Regions from separate parts of the Homo sapiens genome. Here all the other regions are linked to region 1. Evidence: promoter capture Hi-C in 16 types of primary human blood cells and fetal thymus (Javierre and others, 2016). All regions are on one chromosome and are shown on one strand. The core of a region is centred on a gene start or on the middle of the fragment in contact, and the rest is flanking DNA. Distances in the headings are between cores, read along the strand shown.

Region 1 (3,239 bases), core at 289-2,788:
TTTCAGTTTTGGAACTCCCCAAAGAGCTGTCAGAAATCTTTGATCCCACACGAGGTAGGCTGCTGCATTCCTCCCTGAGGCTAGGGGTAAGGGACACAGCTCATTGGGTCCTATGGCTGTTTTCTTGCCCTTTTGAGGACCTTGTTGTGGCGCTTATGGTAACTGGGGCAAAGGGTGAAGTTCCTGATGGGCAGGTGGGGTTCCCTTTCCTGGGCTTTGGTGGGTGGAGAGGTGGGAGCTGGAATGTTAGTAACTGAGCTCCCTCCATTCCCAGAGTGCATGAGCTCGGAGCTGCTGGAGGAGTTGATGTCCTCAGAAGGTGGGTGGCCCTGGAAGGTGGGAGTGGGTGTGGGCAGGGGTTGGGCTGCTGCTAGGGGAGCCCTGGCCCAGGGCCTGAGACTAGTGCTCTCTGCAGTGTTTGCCCCTCTGCTTCGTCTTTCTCCACCCCCGGGAGACCACGATTATATCTACAACCTGGACGAGAGTGAAGGTGTCTGTGACCTCTTTGATGTGCCTGTTCTCAACCTCTGACTGACAGGGACATGCCCTGTGTGGCTGGGACCCAGACTGTCTGACCTGGGGGTTGCCTGGGGACCTCTCCCACCCGACCCCTACAGAGCTTGAGAGCCACAGACGCCTGGCTTCTCCGGCCTCCCCTCACCGCACAGTTCTGGCCACAGCTCCCGCTCCTGTGCTGGCACTTCTGTGCTCGCAGAGCAGGGGAACAGGACTCAGCCCCCATCACCGTGGAGCCAAAGTGTTTGCTTCTCCCTTTCTGCGGCCTTCGCCAGCCCAGGCTCGGCTGCCACCCAGTGGCACAGAACCGAGGAGCTGCCATTACCCCCCATAGGGGGCAGTGTCTTGTTCCTGCCAGCCTCAGTGTCTTGCTTCTGCCAGCTCCTTCCCCTAGGAGGGAAGGGTGGGGTGGAACTGGGCACATGCCAGCACCACTTCTAGCTTCCTTCGCTATCCCCCACCCCCTGACCCTCCAGCTCCTCCTGGCCCTCTCACGTGCCCACTTCTGCTGGGCCTTTAGCCCTAGAACCTGCAGGTGGTGGGGGCGGCTACCAAGAAGGAACAGAGGTCTCTGGGGAGGAGTCTGGGTGGTCCAGCCCTGATGATTGGCCCCACCTCCTGCTGCCCCATAACCCTCTCTTCATTTCGGCTTTTTCATTTACCCTCATTTAGAGCCATTTGCAGAGATTTAGAAAGATTTACAGTAACGAATGGATTCCTATATAAAGATTATTTTTATACTTTTTGCAGCAAAAGGAAATTGTAATATTTGTACAGTGTTCAAGTGAATAAAAACCATGCCTAAGGCTAGCTCTGATGTGGTTCTTTGGGGACCCTCCTTGGGACTGTGCTGGACTGGCAGTGTGATTGGGTGGGTCACCTTGCTGGAACTAGGGGTGGGGCGGCCTCCGGCAGCCTGCCCTCCCCGCCCCCACCTGCCGCACCTTGGTGTGGGGCGGGGCCGCCTCGGCGGGGCGGGGCAGGCGGAGCCGTCCTACCTTCCTACCCCCAGACTCCAACCCGGAACTAACCTCGGCTCCCTTGGGAAGGCCGCGTTGCATGGCCAGGAGCAGCAGTCTGGGCCGCGAGTGCGGGACACCGAGGTCAGGTCTCGGAAAGGGAGGACCTCCTCGTCCCCAGGGGCCCCAGGCCAGGTGCACCCTTGGCCGCAGGTGCACGGTCTCCGGAAAGTGCAGGCGCCCACGTCCCAGCTGGACCATGGCGCCTCCGCGGAACGTGGTGAAGATTGCCATCAAGATGCGTGACGCCATCCCGCAGCTCATCCAGCTGGACCAGGTCACCCGGCTGGTCCCGCCTCCATCTGCCCCACTGCCCCACCTCCCGGTAGCCCCCTGGCCCTCGGGGCAGCCCGCCCCACCCCTCCCCCCAGGCTCCTCCCCATCCCTCCCTGCCCAGGCCGCGAGAATGACCACTCCACTTGCAGGCGAAGCCCCTGGCCGCTGTGCTGAAGGAGGTGTGCGACGCGTGAGTGCTGCCGGGCCAGGGCCTGCGGAGGGCGGGAGGGCAGGAGGGGCGGCGCCCCCTGCCGGCCTCGCTGAGCCTCGTGCCCCTCAGGTGGAGCCTGACGCACTCTGAGCGTTACGCCCTGCAGTTTGCGGATGGGCACCGGAGATACATCACCGAGAATGTGAGTCCCCTCTCCCCAGCCCCAAGCTCGGCCTTCCGACCCCTCTAACCCACCTGGCCCCGATAACTCTGGCTCTTCATCCCACTACCGGAGCGCGATCTGTTATTCACCCCCAGCCGCCCTCACCGACACCCCAGTTGATCAGTCCTCGGAGCCCTCCCTGACCTCGCTGCCTTTTCTGCTGTCTTCTCCAGAACCGCGCGGAGATCAAGAATGGCAGCATCCTGTGCCTCAGCACGGCCCCAGTAATGCCCCTCCCGTCCCGCCTTCCCCATCCCTGCCCCTTTGCTCCAGGTCCAGAGGCCCCCCGCCCCGGAGGCCCCCGCCCCAGCCCTGCCTTGCGCCACCTAGTTGACGCCCGGGGCCGCACACTTCCAGGTCCCACCCTTACCATGCCCAGCCTCTTCACCTCTGCTCCTGCTCCGTTCCTGCCAGGACCTTGAGGCTGAGCAGCTCTTGGGTGGGCTGCAGAGTAACAGTCCTGAAGGGCGCCGGGAAGCCCTGAGGCGCCTTGTTCCGCTGGCCTCGGACATGATCTTTGCCAGGGAGGTCATCAGCCGTAATGGGCTCCAGATACTAGGCACCATCATTGAAGATGGGGACGAGTGAGCACAGGGATGTGTGGGCTGGGGGAGATGGTGGGTCTTTCTGGTCCTGGGGTGGTCCTGCTCAGCCCCAGATGTCCCCCCTCCAGCCTAGGAGAGGTGCTGGCCCTCAGCCTGAGGGCCTTCTCAGAGCTCATGGAGCACGGCGTGGTGTCCTGGGAGACTCTGAGCATCCCCTTTGTGAGGAAGGTGGGTGGGCTTTCCTAGGGCAGCGGGTGGGGGCAGTGGAGCAGTGGGGCAGTGGTAGACCCGGTCTTCCATGGGGGTGAGGTGGTGACACCCCCGCCCCTTACAGGTGGTGTGCTACGTGAACATGAACCTCATGGATGCCTCCGTGCCTCCCCTGGCCCTTGGGCTGCTGGAGAGTGTGACCTTGAGCAGCCCAGCCCTGGGCCAGCTGGTCAAGAGCGAGGTGCCCCTGGATAGGCTGCTGGTGCACCTACAGGTGTAAGCCTCTGGGGCTGGGGTCC
Region 2 (3,552 bases), core at 924-3,423, 210 kb before region 1:
AGAGAATTGCTTGAAACTGGGAGGCAGAGCTTGCAGTGAGCTGAGGTGGCGCCACTGTACTCCAGCCTGGGCGACAGAGTGAGACTCTGTCTCAAAAAAATAAATAAATAATAAAAGTGGGTCTTGTTTTTTGTTTTTTGTTTCGGGGTATTTTGGTTAGAGACAGAGTCTTACTCTGTCTTGACCGCCTGGGCTCAATTGATCCTGCTGCCTCAGCCTCCCAAGTAGCTGGGTCTGCAGGCATGTACCAGCACATCTGGCTGACTTTTTAATTTTTTGTAAAGACAGGGTCTCACTATGTTGTCCAGGCTGGCCTTGAACTCCTGGCCTTAAGCGGTCCTCCTGCCTTGGCCTCCTAAAGTGCTGAGATTACAGGCGTGAGCCACCACAAGTTAACACGTTATGCTGGGGAGGAGTTAGGGGAGAGATTTTCTTTGTAGAGACCTGTTACCTCGCTGTGAGTTCTCACCCCACTTCTTTCCCCTCAAGCCTGTGGGCATGAGACCATGGGGAAGATGAGTGGTGCTTTCCACCATAGGAGGCTCAGCCAGCCAGAGCCTGACTCCACCCCGCCATCGTGAGTGGGGCAGAAGGGGCTGCAATGGGATGGGCCACACCTCTGCTGAGGTGGGGCAAGGGATATTGGAGGTTTGCCCATGTAGACCCCACAGGATAAGTGGCAGAGGCAGGGGTGGGGGGTCATCTTGGGCCTTCATTAGAGGAGCACAGAGCCCAGGCAGCAATGATTGGGCAGTGAATGCCACATTCCTTGGGACTGAGGAAGGGTCACAAGGATGGGAACTGTGGGAGAGGAGTCCCAAATAAAGAGCATCTCCGAAGAACTCAGAAAATTGACTGTGAAAGAAGGAGGTTTAACCATCTGTCAGGCCTATAGAGCAAGAGGCTGTGGGCCAAGGGAGAAGTTCTCTGTTCCCCTGCCTTTTCCCCTCCCCAGCACAGAAGCCCAACAGACCCTCTTTTCACAAAGATGGGCCAGGACCCCAGACTTTGGGGGTACACGAGAGAGGAAACATCTTACCTTTTTTTTGTTCTTTGAGATGGAGTCTCACTCTGTCGCCCAGGCTGGAGTACAGTGACGCCATCTTGGCTCACTGCAAGCTCCGCCTCCTGGTTTCAAGCAATTCTCTTGCCTCAGCCTCCTGAGTAGCTGGAACTACGGGCGCGTGCCACCACGCCCGGATAATTTTTTGTATTTTTAGTAGGGACGGGGTGTTAGCCAGGATGGTCTCGATCTTCTGACCTCGTGACCCGCCTGCCTCAGCCTCCCAAAGTGTTGGGATTACAGGCATGAGCCACCGTGCCTGGCCTATTTATTTTTGAGACAGGGTCTCACTCTGTCACCCAGGCTGGAGTGCAGTGGCCCGATCTCGGCTCACTACAACCTCCGCCTCCCAGGTTCAAGCCATCCTCCTGCCTCAGCCTCCTGAGTAGCTGGGACTACAGGCACACACTACCACGCCCAGCTAATTTTTGTATTCTTTGTTTTAGTAGAGACGGGGTTTCACCATGTTGGCCAGGCTGGTCTCGAACTCCTGACCTCAGGTGATCCACCTGCCTCAGCCTTCCAAAGTGCTGGTATTACAGGCATGAGCCACCACACCCAGCCCCATCTTACCTTTGACTGAAGATGGGACTGCTGTCTCCTTGCTTCCACCTCCCACACTTGCTCCTGTGGCTCCAAACTTCAAACAGGATCTTTCTTTGCCTGGCCCACTCCTCCTCATCCTTTACTTAGAAGATTAGATCTTTTCCAGGGAATCTTCATTCCCACCACCCGGCTCTGGGCTCACTCCTCGGGTGCCCCTCTGGGCTCCCACATTACGGTTGCTTTCAGGTCCAGCTTCCGCATGTGGACTATGAAACTGTGAGGACAGCCAAGGGTCAGCATGTGCGAGGAAAGGCAGGGAAGAGGCTAGACGAGGCACTGGGGAGCAGGGAGGCCCAAGACCCTTAAATCCACAGACAGGAAGCCCTGGCTGAAGGGCCAAGTAACCAGGTGTTCTACTTCAATCTTGGCACCCACTGTATGCTTAGACCTTGACTCACACATGTTCAGCTTTAAGCCACTGCACAGATGAGCAAACGGGGCGGAGATTGCAGGCTGATCAGTTTGAAGAGCCAAGATCATCTAGCGTGACCTGTTGCCCAAGGCAGAGACAAGGCTGTGGGCTGGTCAGAAGCTGGTTACAATTCCTCCCGCCCCAGTACTTGCTGGCAGGGATTAAGAGCAGATAAAAGTGTGCTCACACACTGTAGACACGGCTACCATGCCATCCACAGTGTTGCCATCCACAGTGTTGCCATCACTCCTGCCCACAGCAGGAGCTGGCTGGAGCATGAGGTGGATTCTGTGCTGGAGCCTCACCCTCTGCCTGATGGCGCAGACGGCCTTGGGTAAGACCCCCACCCCTTCCCGAGAGTGTCAGGCAAGACGGGCACAAGGGATGGAGGGACAGGCCCCAGTTCAACCTCTCCTGGGGACAGCAGGGCAGGAGCACTTAGACAAGGCCTGGGCAAATGGAGGGTAGGGTTTCAGGACACTAAACCATCTACCAGCTGGGAGTCTGGACAAGTCCTTTAGCCTCCCTGAACCTCAGGGCTTCTCTGTATTTCCTGCCTCCCGGCACAGGTGAAGGGGTCTGAGAACATGGCCACATCTTTTCTTCCTTCCCACCTTTTTCCTTCCTTCCATCCTTCTTTCCTTCTCCTAAGCAGGAGGCCTGTCTCTGCCCCCTCTCTGCTACATGAACCTCTTTACCACCTTCAAATTTCTCCCCAATATCTTTCTTTTTAAAATGAGTACTACACTTTTTACTGTGAAAACAATCTAATACATTAACAAAAGTTTACTGAGGTATAAGATGTATACAGCAAGGTGCACACATCTTCACTGTATAATTATATCTATTATACTAATTATTATATATATATATATGGTAACCATTATCCAGATCAACATCTAGAACATTTCCAGTGGGTTAGGCATGGTAGCTCATGCCTGTAATTCCAGCACTTTGAGAGGCTGAGGTGGGAGGATTACTTGAGCCCAGGAGTTTGAGACCAGCCTGGGCAAATAGTGAGACCTAGCCTGGGTAAATAGACTCTGTCTCTATTTTTAAAAAACATTTTTTAAAAAGTTTTTTTAACTTACAAGGATACACCTGTAATCCCAGCACTTTGGGAGGCCGAAGCGGGCAGATCACCTGAGGTCAGGAGTTTGAGACCAGCCTAACCAATATTATTACCCCGTCTCTACTAAAAATACAAAACTAGCCAGGCATGGTGGCACATGCCTGTAATCCCAGCTACTCAGGAGGCTGAGGCAGGAGAATCGCTTGAAGCCAGGAGGCAGAGGTTGTAGTGAGCCGAGATCGTGCCATTGCACTCCAGCCTGGGCAACAAGAGCGAAACTCTATCTCAAAAAAAAAAACAAAAAACCATCTCCAGCGTCCCATGTACTCCTTCTCAGTCAATACTCAAAGTTACCACTAGTCTGACCTCTATCATAAATAAATTTTGCCCATATATACA
Region 3 (3,231 bases), core at 82-2,581, 230 kb after region 1:
TTTCTCGTTCCTTCTCTCTGGGTCTCCTTGATTGTGTAATGATCTGATAAGGGCCTGTCCCTCCAGTCAGACAGAAGAGGAGGGAATTATTATTCCTCCCACAGGGGAGGAATAATGTTTGTATTGTTTACTATTGCTTCCCTAGCACAGAGCCCAGAACATACTAAGCACTCAAGAAATGTGTGTTGAGGCTGCTGTAATCCCAGCACTTACTAAGCCCAGAACATACTAAGCACTCAAGAAATGTGTGTTGAGGCCGCTGTAATCCCAGCACTTTCGGAGGCCAAGGTGGGAGGATTGTTTGAGCCCAGGAGTTCAAGACCAGCCTGGGCAACATAGCAAGACCCTGTGTTTACAAAAAATTTAAAAATTAGCGGTGCATGATGACGCATGCCTGTAGTCCAAGCTACTCAGGAGGCTGAGAAGGGGAGGATCCCTGGAGCCCAGGAGTTCGAGGCTGCAGTGACCTATGAGTGACTGCACCACTGTAGCCTGGGCAACAAAGCAAGACTCTGTCTCTAAAAATAATAATCATAAAGAAAGAAATGTGTGTCAAACACGTGAAGAATAAAAAAGGATAGCGCTACTTATAGGAATTCTTCTGTGAAGCCTTGTGTAAATAACCAAATTATTTTTGTGTAAAAATGGACTTTCCTATATTATCCCACCTCTTCAACATAGTAAATCTATTTTTTCCATGTTCCTTGTTAAGCTTTTTGTAAAATTTGCTGCATTCAAGGCACTTTCCTCCCATTAATTTTCTTCCCTGTTAAGTGGTTTTTACGACCACTTCATGCTTTAAGCAAGAAGTGCCATTTAGTATTTAAAATATTCTCTCAGCTTTCTTGGTGAGATCTTTGGCAACCTTCCTACTGTTGATTGTAACTGGTGCGACTTGGAACACGATGTCACTCTTCCAGAACTCTTCTCAGACCTAGATAAAACTTACTCTGTGTCACCAGTTGGGGACAAGGTGTTTGGAAACAGTACCTTATGCAACAGAACTGCTGGAGGGCCGCCCCTCAGAGGCAAATGAAATAAAAATCATGGTGTGTGGAAAATGTGCCCGCAGAGTCCCAGGAACCAAAGATTTTAAAGCTTCTCTGCCAGTAATTCAGTTTTTATTTTATGTTTCTTGGAAAACTGAAGTCTTGTGTTTACCACGTGTCACCTAAGATGCAGAAAGGGGGAAAAAAGTGATCCTGGTTGGTGAAGATTTCCATTTCAATGGCAGCCTGGTCCAAGCTGTTCTCTTGCAACTGACTCCCGCCTCTCCCCCACCAGCCCCCTCCCGCCCCTGCACAGGCTCCCTGGGGAGGGGTATTTCCTTTCAGTGTGAAATCTGTCTTTTTGCTCGCTCATTTCTATGGGGAATGGCACATCCATGCAAAGTTGTTGGCTGCTCTTATTTTATTTCAAAAATGTGCTGGCCTCAGACACCTGAAGTTTTCCTCGAATACTTTAAAGCAAATTATGTGCAGGAACCTCTCAGACCTGCTCTCACCGGAATTTCCTTTGAGTGTTCATATCTCAGAGCCTTATGTAACCTGACACAATTATCTGAAAAAGCTTGGAATCCAAAAGAAAGGTGTTCTGAGCTAGGAATGAAGGTCAGAGCTGGGAAAGAAGTGCTCTCCCTTGCCTGGGGACTGGGTCACACTTCACTACGACAATGCCCAATTCACGTTCCAAAGAAAAAATACTAAACCTCTGGCAGGGTGACCAGTGGGTACACTCGCCTCATTTCTCTGAACAAGGAATCGCTTAATGAGGGCTCCCGGGGCATTACAAAGCCTTGGACCTGGCTGGCGGTTAAAAATATTTCGATAACCACCTCCAGCTTCTGGCCTTCCCAGGATGGAAGCAGGAGTGGCTTGGGCCCCTTTAGGAGAATAACCCCTCCGCTGACTGCAAAAATCAACCCAGCTGGACAGTTGGGGTCTCGTGCCGGAGGTCAGTGCTGCAAATGGGGTATAGGTGGGGGTCTGGAATTCACATTTTTATACCAAGTGGTTGGTCTAGGTGATTTGACTCAAGCCTGGCCCAAGACTCCCCCGCCCCAGCCCACTCCCAACACAAGGCGGAAGGAGAGCGAGGACATTAACTGTAAGTACAGACCTAAAACTGGGGGCAACCAGGAGATGACCCCGCATTCTGGAAAGCCCTCAGGCCAAGAAGCTCTTTTTCTTCTTGAGAAATATCAACCCTGCTCGATATTTGCATACCAGCGGTGAGGGACCTCCACGGAGCAGAGGCACCACTCATAGGTGGTTGACTTTTCAAGGAATTCGCTGGAGAAAATTGTACGCAAGGCTGTGAACAAAACCCCCCTCCATCTGGTTTCAGTTTATTTAAAAAAACAACACACACAGTCCTCCCCACCAGCAATCAGAAGACAGCCACAGCTTCCCCAGGGGGCGTATTAGCCACCAGGGGTGGGGCTGAATTATGTATATGCAAATAAATTAAAACAGCCAGCCAACAGCAACTAATTTTTGTATCTTTTGCAGTTGTTGTGCCAAGAAAAGGCCTGAATCAGGGTGATGGAAGCTGTAAGGAGACAAGTTTGGAATGAGTTTTAACAATCAAGTTGCCTCAATTCCGTCGTTGGGAGACTTGTTTTTAATCGAGCAGCAAATAGCAAAAGGTCGGTAGCCTTATCCTTATGTATAGGATAAGGATAATGATAGTACCTACTTCATAGTGATGACGTGAGGATAGTAAATAAAATAAAGACCAAGCAAGCTAAGCACAAGGACTGGCATGCCACAAACACACAACCACACTGGAGGATACAAGACGGATCCTAGAAGGATTTCATCCAGAGTCAGTCAAGCTCTCCCTCCAAATGCTCTCAGCTGAGGCTTGCTTTCCGCCTGGGACTGGTCCAGAAAGCCCTGCAGAACATACTCTCTCTGTTTCCCAAACTCAAGGACCCTAATCCCCAAACATCTGCCTTTAATCCTGGAGACAGTAAAAGTTCGGAGGAGGGTGCCAGACACAGGCTGAAAACACAAGTGATGCTCCTGGCTTTCTGTGTCTTACTGCCTCCCTCTCTGGTAACTGGAGGGGAGGTTTCCTTCAGTTCCGTAACTGAAGGGCCTGGTTTCCAGGTGCCCAGCCCAGATGGGATAGCTCTGAAAAATGGTGGAGGCAGGGGCGAGTTCAGTTCATGCCTAGGGTAATCAGAGGGGAGTCGGCAACCTCCAGGGCTCCCACGCTACAGGAGCA
Region 4 (3,240 bases), core at 434-2,933, 210 kb after region 1:
GCCGTCCACACACTCTTCTCAGGGGCCGTCTTGTTGGAGGGCTTGTTGCAGATGTTCATCTCCAGAGGGAGAAACAGTAGAGAGAGCATTAGCCCAAGAAGCTGGGCTGGAGCCCAGGGCCTGTGTCTGCAGCCAAGTTTCAGCACAGGGGGAGTAGGCTGCGACAGCTACTCTGCTGGGGAAACTGGGGTCCTAGCACAATAGAGATGGGCAGTGGGGAGAGGGTGGGAGTGGGCTGCTGTCTCAAAGCCCAAAGCAAACCCTGGCCCTAGACTGGCCAGGACAAGGTAGGAGGGCCCAGGATTTATTCAGGACACAGTGCTGCTGCCTGTAACTCAAAGTGCTGTCTTCACAGCCATCACAGTTAAACCCAATAAGACATGTTCTCATCTGGTAACAATATCAGGCTGGGGCCAGAGTGATGAGAACACATGCTGATTCTGTTAGGATTAGTCACCTCCTTCCTGAGGTCCAAATGCAAGTGTCAGACACCCCCGCTATCCTTTGCTCAGGGAAACGGGGAATGGGGTGCCCAGAAGGAGGATCTGCCCTCTCCCCCACGGTGGACAGAAAATCCCTTTAGGACTGGGGGAGTCTGAAGCTCTGCCCCATGCTGCCTGAGGGTTCTCAGCTGGGGAGGGGCCAGCACATGTGAGGAAGGGAAGGATTCCTCTTTAGTTCCCTTCAGCAGCAGAAATGACCACGTTTCTCTAAGTAAATCTGGGCCTGGTGTACAGTTTTGTACAGAAAGGTGGGCTAACGCCCTTGGACTCAGAGCCAGACCACCAGATGGCATCAACCACCCCCTCCACCCGCCACCCTCTAGCCGGACAGCTGGCCCAGGGTCCAGGGATGAATGCCAGGCAAGAAGGGGTAGGCTACAGGAGGAAGACCCCCATCCCCAGGATATGGGCCCAAGATGGGACAACAGCTCAGGCAGGCAGCGCCACACCTGGGAGACAGGCCAGCTCTGCGCTCATGGTGGGAAGGCCAGGAGCTGGGACTAAAACCCTGGTAGCTGAACTCTCCTTTCAGGAGCCCCTGCCCATGAGACAGGGAACCTAAGCAGAAAGGGTGCCGCAGACCCCGACTCAGTGCATCTTCCTGGATCACCTTTCTCACTTCTCAATCCACAGAATGAGGCTTGATCTTCAGAGCCAACTGCAAGGGTTGCCTCATCCAGGAAGCTTTCCCTGATGCCCTGAGTCAGGGGGCCCTTATGCTAAGTCATTGTTGGGCAAATTACTTTGCCATTTGGGACGCTTTGCAATCCTCATGTCTGCCCTCATTAGGACAACTTTCCCCAAAGGCAGCAAATGTGCTGGGTGGGGTTTATTCATCTCTGTCCCCTATGTCCCTTCCCCCAGGCACCCAAAATTGTACCTTGTACATAGTAGATCCTCAGTAAATGTTTGCTGACTTGAAAACAGCTGAAATAAAAGGAAACGTGGGCACAGTAAATGGTGTGGAATCCTGGTCCACCCTAAGCCATCTGGCCTGCTTTCTCCTGCCTTCCATCCATCCAGCCCTGCCCTCTTTCTGCAGGGTCGTGAACCCATGCCTCCCGCAGCCCATCTCCCTCTGCCGGCTGGCTACCACCCTGACTGCCAGACACTCACTCCTAGCCACCCTGCCCTTCAGCCCACCTGAGGCTCAGAGCCTCCTGCAGGCCAAGCCAAGCATTATTTGAAGTGACCTCTGAGTTGTCCCATCTCAAAGCTAAATGGAGGACTTAGTTTTCCCCCAGGGATTCAACTGGTGGTATTTGGGTTTTGGGTTTAGGGTTTTTTTTTTTCTTCTGAGACAGGATCTTGCTCTGTTGCCCAGGCTGGAGTGCAGTGGCACCATCACAGCTCACTGTAACCTTGACCTCCTGGGCTCAAGTGATCCTCCCACCTCAGCCTCCAGAGTAGCTGGAAGTACAGGCACGCACCACCACACCTGGCTACTTTATTTTATTTTTTTGTAAAGACAGGGTCCCACTATGTTGCCCAGGGTGGTCTCCAACTCCTGGACTCCAGACTCAAGAGATCCGCCAGCCTTGGCCTCCCAAAGTGCTGGGATTAGAGGCGTGAGCCACCGTGCCCGGCCTTGCTTTGTTTTGTTTTGTTTTTTGTTTTTGAAACAGGGTCTTGCGCTGTCACCCAGGCTGGAGTGCCGTGGCGCAATGATAGCTCACTGAAGCTTCAATCTCCTGGGCTCAAGTGATCCTCCTGCCTCAGCCTCCTGAGTAGCTAGAAATACAGCGGCGTGTTGCCATGCCTAGCTATTTATTTTTTATTTTTGCAGAGACAGTCCCACTATGTTGCCCAGGCTGGTCTCCAACTCCTGGGCTCAAGCGATCTTCCCACTTTATCCTCCCAAAGCACTGAGATTACATGCATGACCCACTATCCCAGCCCTCACTTTCTTTTGCATGTCCCCAAAGATAGCAAATCTTTGTCCTTGTATTGTGGAATTGTCAAAGGTCATCAGGTCAAGCCCTGTGAATATGATTGGGTTGGATGGTTCTGCTCTGGGGCCAATCTCTGTGGCTTGCACATCAGCTCCCCAGTGACACCATCACCAGGGCAATTACTTTGAAAGGAATCCATTAATTTGGATTCCTAAATTCTGGCTCTCCTTTTGCCATCCCCAAACCTGAACAACCCTACACCTTGCAGGAGTTTCCAAAGAGCAAAACAGACGCATGCAGCTGATCTGGCCCCACTGCCTGGCAGTGGCCACAGGCACCCCCAGAGCTGCTGTATCCCTGACTCCTGAGGCAGGAGGAGTCACCATCTGCAGCCAGGCGCCCGCCACTTACAGCCTTGGGGATGGCTCTGACTCCAAATCAGGATACCCCCTGATACTCCAAATCAGGATACCCGCTGATACTCCAAATCAGGATACCCCCTGATACTCCAAATCAGGATACCCCCTGATACTCCAAATCAGGATACTCCCTGATACTCCAAATCGGATACCCCCTGATACTCCAAATCAGGATACCCCCGATACTCCAAATCAGGCCCAGGAAGGGAGCACTTGTCTGAGGCTGTGGATGTGGGGATGGTGCTGCCAGGCAGACCTCCCTCAGCAGAGGCAGCATTCTGGTATAGACGCCCAGGCTGGCCCAGAGGCATGCCCAGGCCAGCCCACTCTTCACTGACGACATTTTCTCCTGCAGAGTTGGTGGCTACAAATTCCTTCGGCCCAAAAGATTTTGATTAAAAGGGCTGGGAGGTCGGAGAGAATCCA
Region 5 (3,404 bases), core at 239-2,738, 190 kb after region 1:
AAAGCGGAGCTAGGCAGCCCAAAGAAGAGGCAGAGGCAGGCCGGACTAGATATGCTGCTTCTGAATATGTTAGCTTTGGGCTCAGCATCCAGTTTACATGCAGGTGCCCTGTACTTTTAATCCTGATTGGGCATTTGAAAAATCAATGGGGAAAGATGATGTAAGTGGTTCTAGGTATGTTTCTGCTTCAGTGGCCTCCCAGCGTGCTAATGTTGCCAGAGAGTGTGTAGAAAGTGAAGGATTTTCAACCTAATGCCACATGGTTCTTCTCTTCACCTTCAGGGCCACATCAGAGAGAGAGACAGGTGGAAGGATTAGATAATTTACTTGTACCCCTGATTCCATGCTGTGCAGGGAAGGAGAGCCACCACCATACTAATAAGACATGACAGTCACAAGTTTCTAAGTTATAAATCCACAGACTTCTGGATTTTAAGTGGCTTCCCAAAAGCAGCTTGTACAGAGGAGCCAGAAGTTTCTTTGAGCTGCAAGGCTCTGAGGGAGCTAGAGCGAGCTTGTGCTCTGTGGAAATGTCAGTAAGAGCAGCCTCCCTGCACCCCCGCTGCCTCTTTCCTGGGCCTGTCTTTGTCTCCCAGGTAGGGGAGCATCAGCCAGTGGCCTTGCATCCCTGAGTTGTTATATTTCAGGGTCTCAGCCCAGTGCACAGGCCAACCTAATGGACACACCAGGGGGCAGGGAGGAATAATGCACTGCTTTCCTCCAACCCAGCCCTTCCTGCCTCCTCCATGAACACCTGATGGTGCTAGCCCCAGAATCCACTCAGGACACCTCCTAAGGGGAACAAAGAGCCTGGCCCAGTGTGTGCCACCCTCCACCCCATTTGCCATTGTCATTGAAAGTGACCGACCCTGCCCCAGGCCAGGCACCTGCTAGGTTTGCTGGCCACTCCTGGGGAAGTCATCTGTTTCTGATTTTTCCCTGTATGGCACTTGTTCTACAGGGCACGGGTAGGGGTTGCGATGTTAAGGAGAGAGCCAAAGAGCTCAGGGCAAACTGGACTCAACATGGAAAGCGGAGGACCCTTTAAACAAGCAGAAAACACGTGGAGCAGAATCCCACACCCTAGGCCTGGCACTACCACCAGAAAGCAGGACAGGTCTGGGATGGAGACTGGTCCTCAGGGAGGTTCTATGTCCAGAGGGAGGGGCAGAGCCACTCTTAGGTTGGGAGTTCTCCCAGCCATACAGAGCAGGTTTTAAAGGCTCTGTCCCTCTGATCCTAACCTCTCCTTTGTCTAACCTGATTTTGCTAGCAAGGGTATCCAAAGCTTTCAACCACAAGGAGGCTGTTAGGGGAGGGGCAGTGGCATTGCTGGGCAATGGCTGTCATGTGCCAGATTCTGCTAGACCCGTCTGGTCTTAGGGTCCTCCCAGCCCTGAGTGGGCCTTAAATTCCCTCGGGCTTCATAACGGCATTTCGAGAAGAGGCGGCTTTACTCCTATGACGTGGGGTTTTGGGGCTCAGCCATTCTCTCTGTGTTCTTCCAAGCCATACTGCCAGTCACAGGAATGGAGAAGCCGCTGGGCCCTCTACCATTGGATGGTACTGTCACCTGCAGTGGAATAGTGGGAGCCTGGCCCAATTTGGAACACAGTTAAATTTGTTTCCCTGTGAGGCTGTTCTGGTGAAAGCCAGAGGATTTGGGTTTCACTCCTATTATGTTCATTTTAAGCTTGCAATTCAAACGAATTTTCCAGGGCTAGAGGAATTGTTCCTCTGCATTTTTTTTTTTTCATTAAACGCCTTGCATTCTACCTCTTAACATTTGCTGGTGGGAGGATCTGCCTGAAGGTCCCTGAAGCTCTTCCCTGGGCCACTCAAGGAGACGCGGTCAGCTGGGTCAGGAGGAGCCGCGCTGTGAGGCAAGGCTCTGCTGTGGCCAGGTGCCCACCTGCTGCCTGCCGATTCCCGCCTGACATCCCTGTCTCAAGCCATACTATTCCGCTACACCCCTGTCCCCAAGGAAAGCTGGGCTTAAGGGATGTGGGGCCACCTGGGCAGGAGCATCCCCCAATAGACTGTGGGATGAGAGGATAAACAATGGTGCTGCTTTGTCTTGTGATCTGGGTCAGGAAAGCAGGCATTTGGGAACTGGCCCTTTTATACCTTTTCTAGCCCCTTTGGGAGCCACCCTCTCCTGGGTAGGCCCTAAAGTCCCATCCAGCCCCATTTTCACAGCAAGGAAGGAAGGAGAGGTAGCCCGAAAGCCTTGGCTTGGGAATAGCTCTGTCAAAACACCCAGAGCCTCAGTGAGATGATCTGGAAACGCCCAGGCATCCTCAGGACCAGAGAGGCTCCCTTCCCCCACTAGGGATGTGGAACAGATGGGAGGACATCAAAGAGGAGGCCCCTTTACTGAGGGATGCCCTGCTCCCACCACAGGCTAGTGTTGGGTGCCAAGCCCTATCACCAGTCAGCCAGTCCCAGTTTTGGAAGTCAATGCTGGGGCTTGCTAGAAAGAGCCTGGCCTGGGAGGCAAGAGGCATGGTCTGGCCTCTAGTCTGCAGAAGCCCCTCCACCTCTCTGGATGTTTCCTCAGCTATAAAATTACGGAGTCAGATGAGCTACTCTCTTTTTTTTTTTTTTTTTTTTTTTTTTTTTTTGAGACAAAGTGTCTGTTGCCCACACTGGAGTGCAGTGGCGTGATCTCGGCTCACAGCAACCTCCAACTCCTGGATTCAAGCGATTCTCCTGCCTCAGTCTCCTGAGTAGCTGGGAGGGACTACAGGCACGCAACACCATGCCCAGCCAATTTTTGTATTTTTAATCGAGACGGGGTATCACTATGTTGGTCAGGCTGGTCTTGAACTCCTGACCTCATGATCCACCCGCCTCAGCCTCCCAAAGTGCTGGGATTACAGGCGTGAGCCACCGCGCCCGGCCTGGATGAGCTACTCTCTAAGGTTCTGCCTGGCCCTGCGTTTTCTGTATTCTGAGCCAGAACCCAAAATGACTTGCCTCGGTAGCCCCTGTTCGCAGACTGAAAGCTGATGCCTGGCTCTGGGGCCTCTGCCAATGCTTGGCCCAGGCTGAGTCGGCTGTTTCATCCCTCCTACTGCTGTGAAAGTGGAGAGGGGGCCAACTCTCCAAACCCAAGGCACTGGTCACAGGAAGGCAAGCTTTGATGTCAGGACTCCCGTCAGGCCCAGCTAAAAGGCTTTGGACTTCCCCAGGAGTCTCCTCAGACAGAATGGCTCTGTGCTAACAGAAGGGGACTCATGAGTGCCTTTTTCTGGGCAAGGCTGCCAGGGGAAGGGGAGTGATTAGCAGTGTGTGGCATGCAGCGGGGTGATGACACTGAGGGGGTCACTGGAGTGTGAATGTCATTCCCCCATCATCGTCAACCAGGCCATATTGGTACAAAAGGTGTCTTTATTGAGGTC
Region 6 (3,330 bases), core at 566-3,065, 230 kb before region 1:
CCCGTTACTCCCATTTGATAAGTGAGAAAGCAGAGGCCCAGAAAGGTTTGAGGGACTTGCCCAAGGTCACCCAGCTTTGTTTTGTTGTGTTGTTGTTTTGCTTTTTTTTTTCTGTTTTTGTTTGTTTGTTTGTTTGTTTTTGAGACAGAGTCTCGCTCTGTCACCCAGGCTGGAGTGCAGTGGTGCGATCTCAGCTCACTTCAACCTCCACCTCCTGGGTTCAAGAGTTTCTCCTGCCTCAGCCTCCCAAGCAGCTGGGATTACAGGCACATGCCACCACACCCAGCTTTCACCACGTTGGCCAGGCTGGTCTCAAGCTCCTGACCTCAAGTAATCCATCTGCTTTGGCCTTCCGAAGTGTTGGGATTACAGGCGTGGGCCACTTCAATAAAGCAAATGTTTTCTTTTGGGGAACAAGGTTTTTGCACAAACTGGCCTTCTGGGCACTGCTGATCTGGGCAGCATATTCCTGCCTTGGCGTCTGGTTTATACATCAGGCTCTATGAGACTGGTTAGTGTGACTCTGTGCCAGAGCAATTGACTAAAACTCTCAGGTTTTAGATATCAAGCCACCGGGGACTTCATGAGCCAAGTCCCTTCCATTCCTTTCCAGGTGCATAGAACTTCCCACAAGAGTGTCAGCACTGTGCTTTCATCCCGAGCATCTTGTTTCTGTCATTCTTATTCTTCTACCCATCTTCACAGCAATCATTTTCTTCACTTTTCTTTTTTTTTTTTTTTCGTCTTGGCCCATTGCACACCCTAAGACAAAGCAATCCATTTTTGTTGTTGTTGTTGTTTGTGTGTTTGTTTGTTTTTTGAGACAGAGCCTCGATCCATCATCCAGGCTGCAGTGCAGCAGCGCCATCATGACTCTCTACTGCCTCAACCTCTCAGGCCCGAGCAATCCTCCCAGCTTCCTGAGTAGCTCGGGCCTCAGGTCTGTGCCACCATACTCTGCTAACTTTTTTTTTCTTCCGTGTATAGTCAGGTCTCCCTCTGTTGCCCAAGCTGGTCTAGAGCACCTGGCCTCAAGCAATCCTCTTGCCTCGACCTCCCACAGTGCTGGGATTACAGACATGAGCCACAGCACCCAGCCAACAACCACTTTTAATGGCTGCAAATCTTCCACAAATGGAGCGTCTCGTTACATTGTTCTTTCATCTTGGCATTTGGGCATCTTCTAGTTTTTTTGTTTGTTTGTTTGTTTTGTTTTTGAGATGGAGTTTTGCTCTTGTTGCCCAGGGTGGAGTGCAATGGCGCGATCTTAGCTCACCGCACTGCAACCTCTGCCTCCCAGGTTCAAGCGATTCTCCTGCCTCAGCCTCCTGAGTAGCTGGGATTACAGGCATCTGCCACCATGCCTGGCTAATTTTTGTATTTTTTTTAGTAGAGATGGGGTTTCTCCATGTTGGACAGGCTGATCTGGAACTCCTGAACTCAGGTGATCCACCAGCCTTGGCCTCCCAAAATGCTGGGATTACAGGCATGAGGCTGCACCCGGTCCTGGCAACTTCTAGTTTTTACCACTGAGGCTAATAGCGCAGTGAATGTCTTCATGTCCATGGCTTTTGTCCTCTGACTTAGCCCTTTGGAATCAATCCCCTCATATTGGTCCCTTGGTATGTGAGAGAGAGGCTCATGCAATCTTGACATTCAAAGACAAAGCTTAAGCCGGGTGCGGTGGCTCATGCCTATAATCCCAGCACTTTGGGAGGCTGAGGTGAGTGGGTCACTTGAAGTCAGGAGTTCGAGACCAGCCTAGCCAACATGGTGAAACCCCATCTGTACTAAAAATACAAAAATTAGCTGGGCGTGGTGGTGCATGCCTGTAATTCCAGCTACTCAGGAGGCTGAGGCACGAGAATCACTTGAACCCAGGAGGCAGAGGCTGCAGTGAGCCGAGACTGTCCCACTATACTCCAGCCTGGGTGACAGAGTGAGACACTGTCTCACAAAATACAAAGCTTGTAAAAGTTTTCAGGTCAATGCCCTCAACTCTGGCAGGCAGCCTTTACCCCACACCATCAACTTACAGTTGTATGAGTGAAACCAAGGGAACCCCAACCTGGCTGTGCCCCAGGACCTGGGTAGATCTGCCTGGCGTGGAAGGCTGTGCCCAGGACTTGTTGCTGAGAATGTTTCTTAGAAGTTGGGTGACTCAGGCTGGGCCCGGCGGCTCATGCCTTTAATCCCAGCACTTTGGGAGGCCAAGGCAGGCGGATCACTCAAGGCCAGGAGTGTGAGACCAGCCTGGCCAACATGGCATAACCCCACCTCTACTAAAAATACAAAAATTAGCCAGGCACGGTGGTGCACGTCTGCGGTCCCAGCTACTCGGGAGGCTGAGGCAGGAGAATAGCTTGAACCCAGGAGGCGGAGGTTGCGGTGAGCCGAGATTGCGCCACTGCACTCCAGCCTGGGCAACGGAGTGAGTCTCTGTCTCAAAAAAAAAATGTTGAAGAAATTTTTCATTCTCTACAGTTGCCTTTAACCACTTGCCTGTTGTATTTGGGGCTGCTCTCCCCATCCACACCAACCACCTCCCACCAATTTGCGGTTTATCTTTTTGGATCTGTGGACTTTTCGGCCCCATTTTGGCCAAGTGCTCCATGATGAGTTTCTGGCCTCAGGACCGTGAACACTCTCTTGCCCAGGGCTGGGAGTCGGGGTGAGCCGGTGGTCAGGCTCCACTGAGAGGGCCTTGGTGTCCACACAGGGCTGGGGTCTCCTGGATACAATGGAGCAGATGAGCCGGGAGGACATGCTGGCCATCTCAACACCCGTCTTGACCAGTCTGGTGAGACAAGAGGCAGGAGGGAGGAAGCTAGGGCAGGAGGGAGGAAGCTAGTGGGTATCCCATCCAACAGCACAGTCTCTGCCCCTACCTTCCGACACCCACAGCTACCCACCTACCACCAAGCCCCTTTGTCTAACTGATCAATTTTACTTCCACTCCGGAATCTCCTTAGATATGAGCCAGTGTGGTTCTCAAAGGAAAACCATCATCACCATCATCGTCAACATGAAACTGCCCGTTAATGAGCACATATTACGTGCCAGGGACTATGGTGCACTGAGCGCCGGGAGAGGGTTTCATCTCCTTCAATCCTCACTGCAACTCTGTTTTCTTTTCTTTTCTTTTCTTTGTTTTTTTTTTTTTTTTTGAGACAGAGTCTTGCTCTGTCGCCAAGGCTGGAGTGCAGTGGCCCGATCTCGGCTCACCGCAACATCCACCTCCCTCATTCAAGCGATTCTCCTGCCTCAGCCTCCCGAGTAGCTGGGATTACAGGCCCCTGCCACCATGCCCGGCTAATTTTTGTGTTTTAG

Evidence for each region. The method cuts DNA at HindIII sites, captures the fragments that hold promoters and counts their contacts. A CHiCAGO score of 5 or more calls a contact.
Region 2: the fragment with the promoter of CES4A here is called in contact with the fragment with the promoter of ELMO3 in region 1 in 16 of 17 cell types (total CD8 T cells, M0 macrophages, erythroblasts and 13 more); the score reaches 16.0 in total CD8 T cells.
Region 3: a contact is called between a fragment that was not itself captured here and the fragment with the promoter of ELMO3 in region 1, in 1 of 17 cell types (endothelial precursors). The highest score is 5.2, in endothelial precursors.
Region 4: a fragment that was not itself captured here is called in contact with the fragment with the promoter of ELMO3 in region 1 in 2 of 17 cell types (endothelial precursors and M0 macrophages); the score reaches 6.0 in endothelial precursors.
Region 5: a fragment that was not itself captured here is called in contact with the fragment with the promoter of ELMO3 in region 1 in 1 of 17 cell types (endothelial precursors); the score reaches 5.0 in endothelial precursors.
Region 6: a contact is called between a fragment that was not itself captured here and the fragment with the promoter of ELMO3 in region 1, in 1 of 17 cell types (M0 macrophages). The highest score is 5.8, in M0 macrophages.

Annotation. Positions count from the first base shown.
Region 1 is chr16:67,197,593-67,200,831 of GRCh38, forward strand. It overlaps ELMO3 (engulfment and cell motility 3), which reads left to right and starts at 1,539. Exons shown (of 20, transcript NM_024712.5): 1 at 1,539-1,812; 2 at 1,961-2,001; 3 at 2,092-2,164; 4 at 2,359-2,409; 5 at 2,600-2,769; 6 at 2,859-2,958; 7 at 3,065-3,216. The coding sequence starts at 1,735. It overlaps E2F4 (E2F transcription factor 4), which reads left to right. Exons shown (of 10, transcript NM_001950.4): 8 at 7-54; 9 at 275-319; 10 at 416-1,326. The coding sequence ends at 531. RefSeq lists a silencer at 875-934. The HindIII fragment of the contact is 7,654 bases long and covers 1-3,239 here.
Region 2 is chr16:66,986,416-66,989,967 of GRCh38, forward strand. CES4A (carboxylesterase 4A) reads left to right here and starts at 2,174. Exons shown (of 14, transcript NM_001364782.1): 1 at 2,174-2,415. The coding sequence starts at 2,358. The HindIII fragment of the contact is 37,432 bases long and covers 1-3,552 here.
Region 3 is chr16:67,422,869-67,426,099 of GRCh38, forward strand. It overlaps LOC124903702 (a long non-coding RNA gene), which reads left to right. Exons shown (of 2, transcript XR_007065093.1): 2 at 2,511-3,231. Among named protein-coding and RNA genes, the nearest start is that of HSD11B2, 6.6 kb to the right of the region's middle. RefSeq lists an enhancer at 1,357-1,951. The HindIII fragment of the contact is 471 bases long and covers 1,097-1,567 here.
Region 4 is chr16:67,406,384-67,409,623 of GRCh38, forward strand. It overlaps ZDHHC1 (zDHHC palmitoyltransferase 1), which reads right to left. Exons shown (of 12, transcript NM_001323627.2): 2 at 1,384-1,430; 3 at 1-59. The coding sequence starts at 1,392. Among named protein-coding and RNA genes, the nearest start is that of ZDHHC1, 8.5 kb to the right of the region's middle. RefSeq lists enhancers at 1-320, 321-1,207, 1,208-2,093. The HindIII fragment of the contact is 997 bases long and covers 1,186-2,182 here.
Region 5 is chr16:67,386,434-67,389,837 of GRCh38, forward strand. It overlaps TPPP3 (tubulin polymerization promoting protein family member 3), which reads right to left. Exons shown (of 4, transcript NM_015964.4): 4 at 3,376-3,404. Among named protein-coding and RNA genes, the nearest start is that of TPPP3, 5.4 kb to the right of the region's middle. The HindIII fragment of the contact is 405 bases long and covers 1,287-1,691 here.
Region 6 is chr16:66,966,960-66,970,289 of GRCh38, forward strand. It overlaps CES3 (carboxylesterase 3), which reads left to right. Exons shown (of 13, transcript NM_024922.6): 9 at 2,720-2,800. Among named protein-coding and RNA genes, the nearest start is that of CES3, 7.4 kb to the left of the region's middle. The HindIII fragment of the contact is 299 bases long and covers 1,667-1,965 here.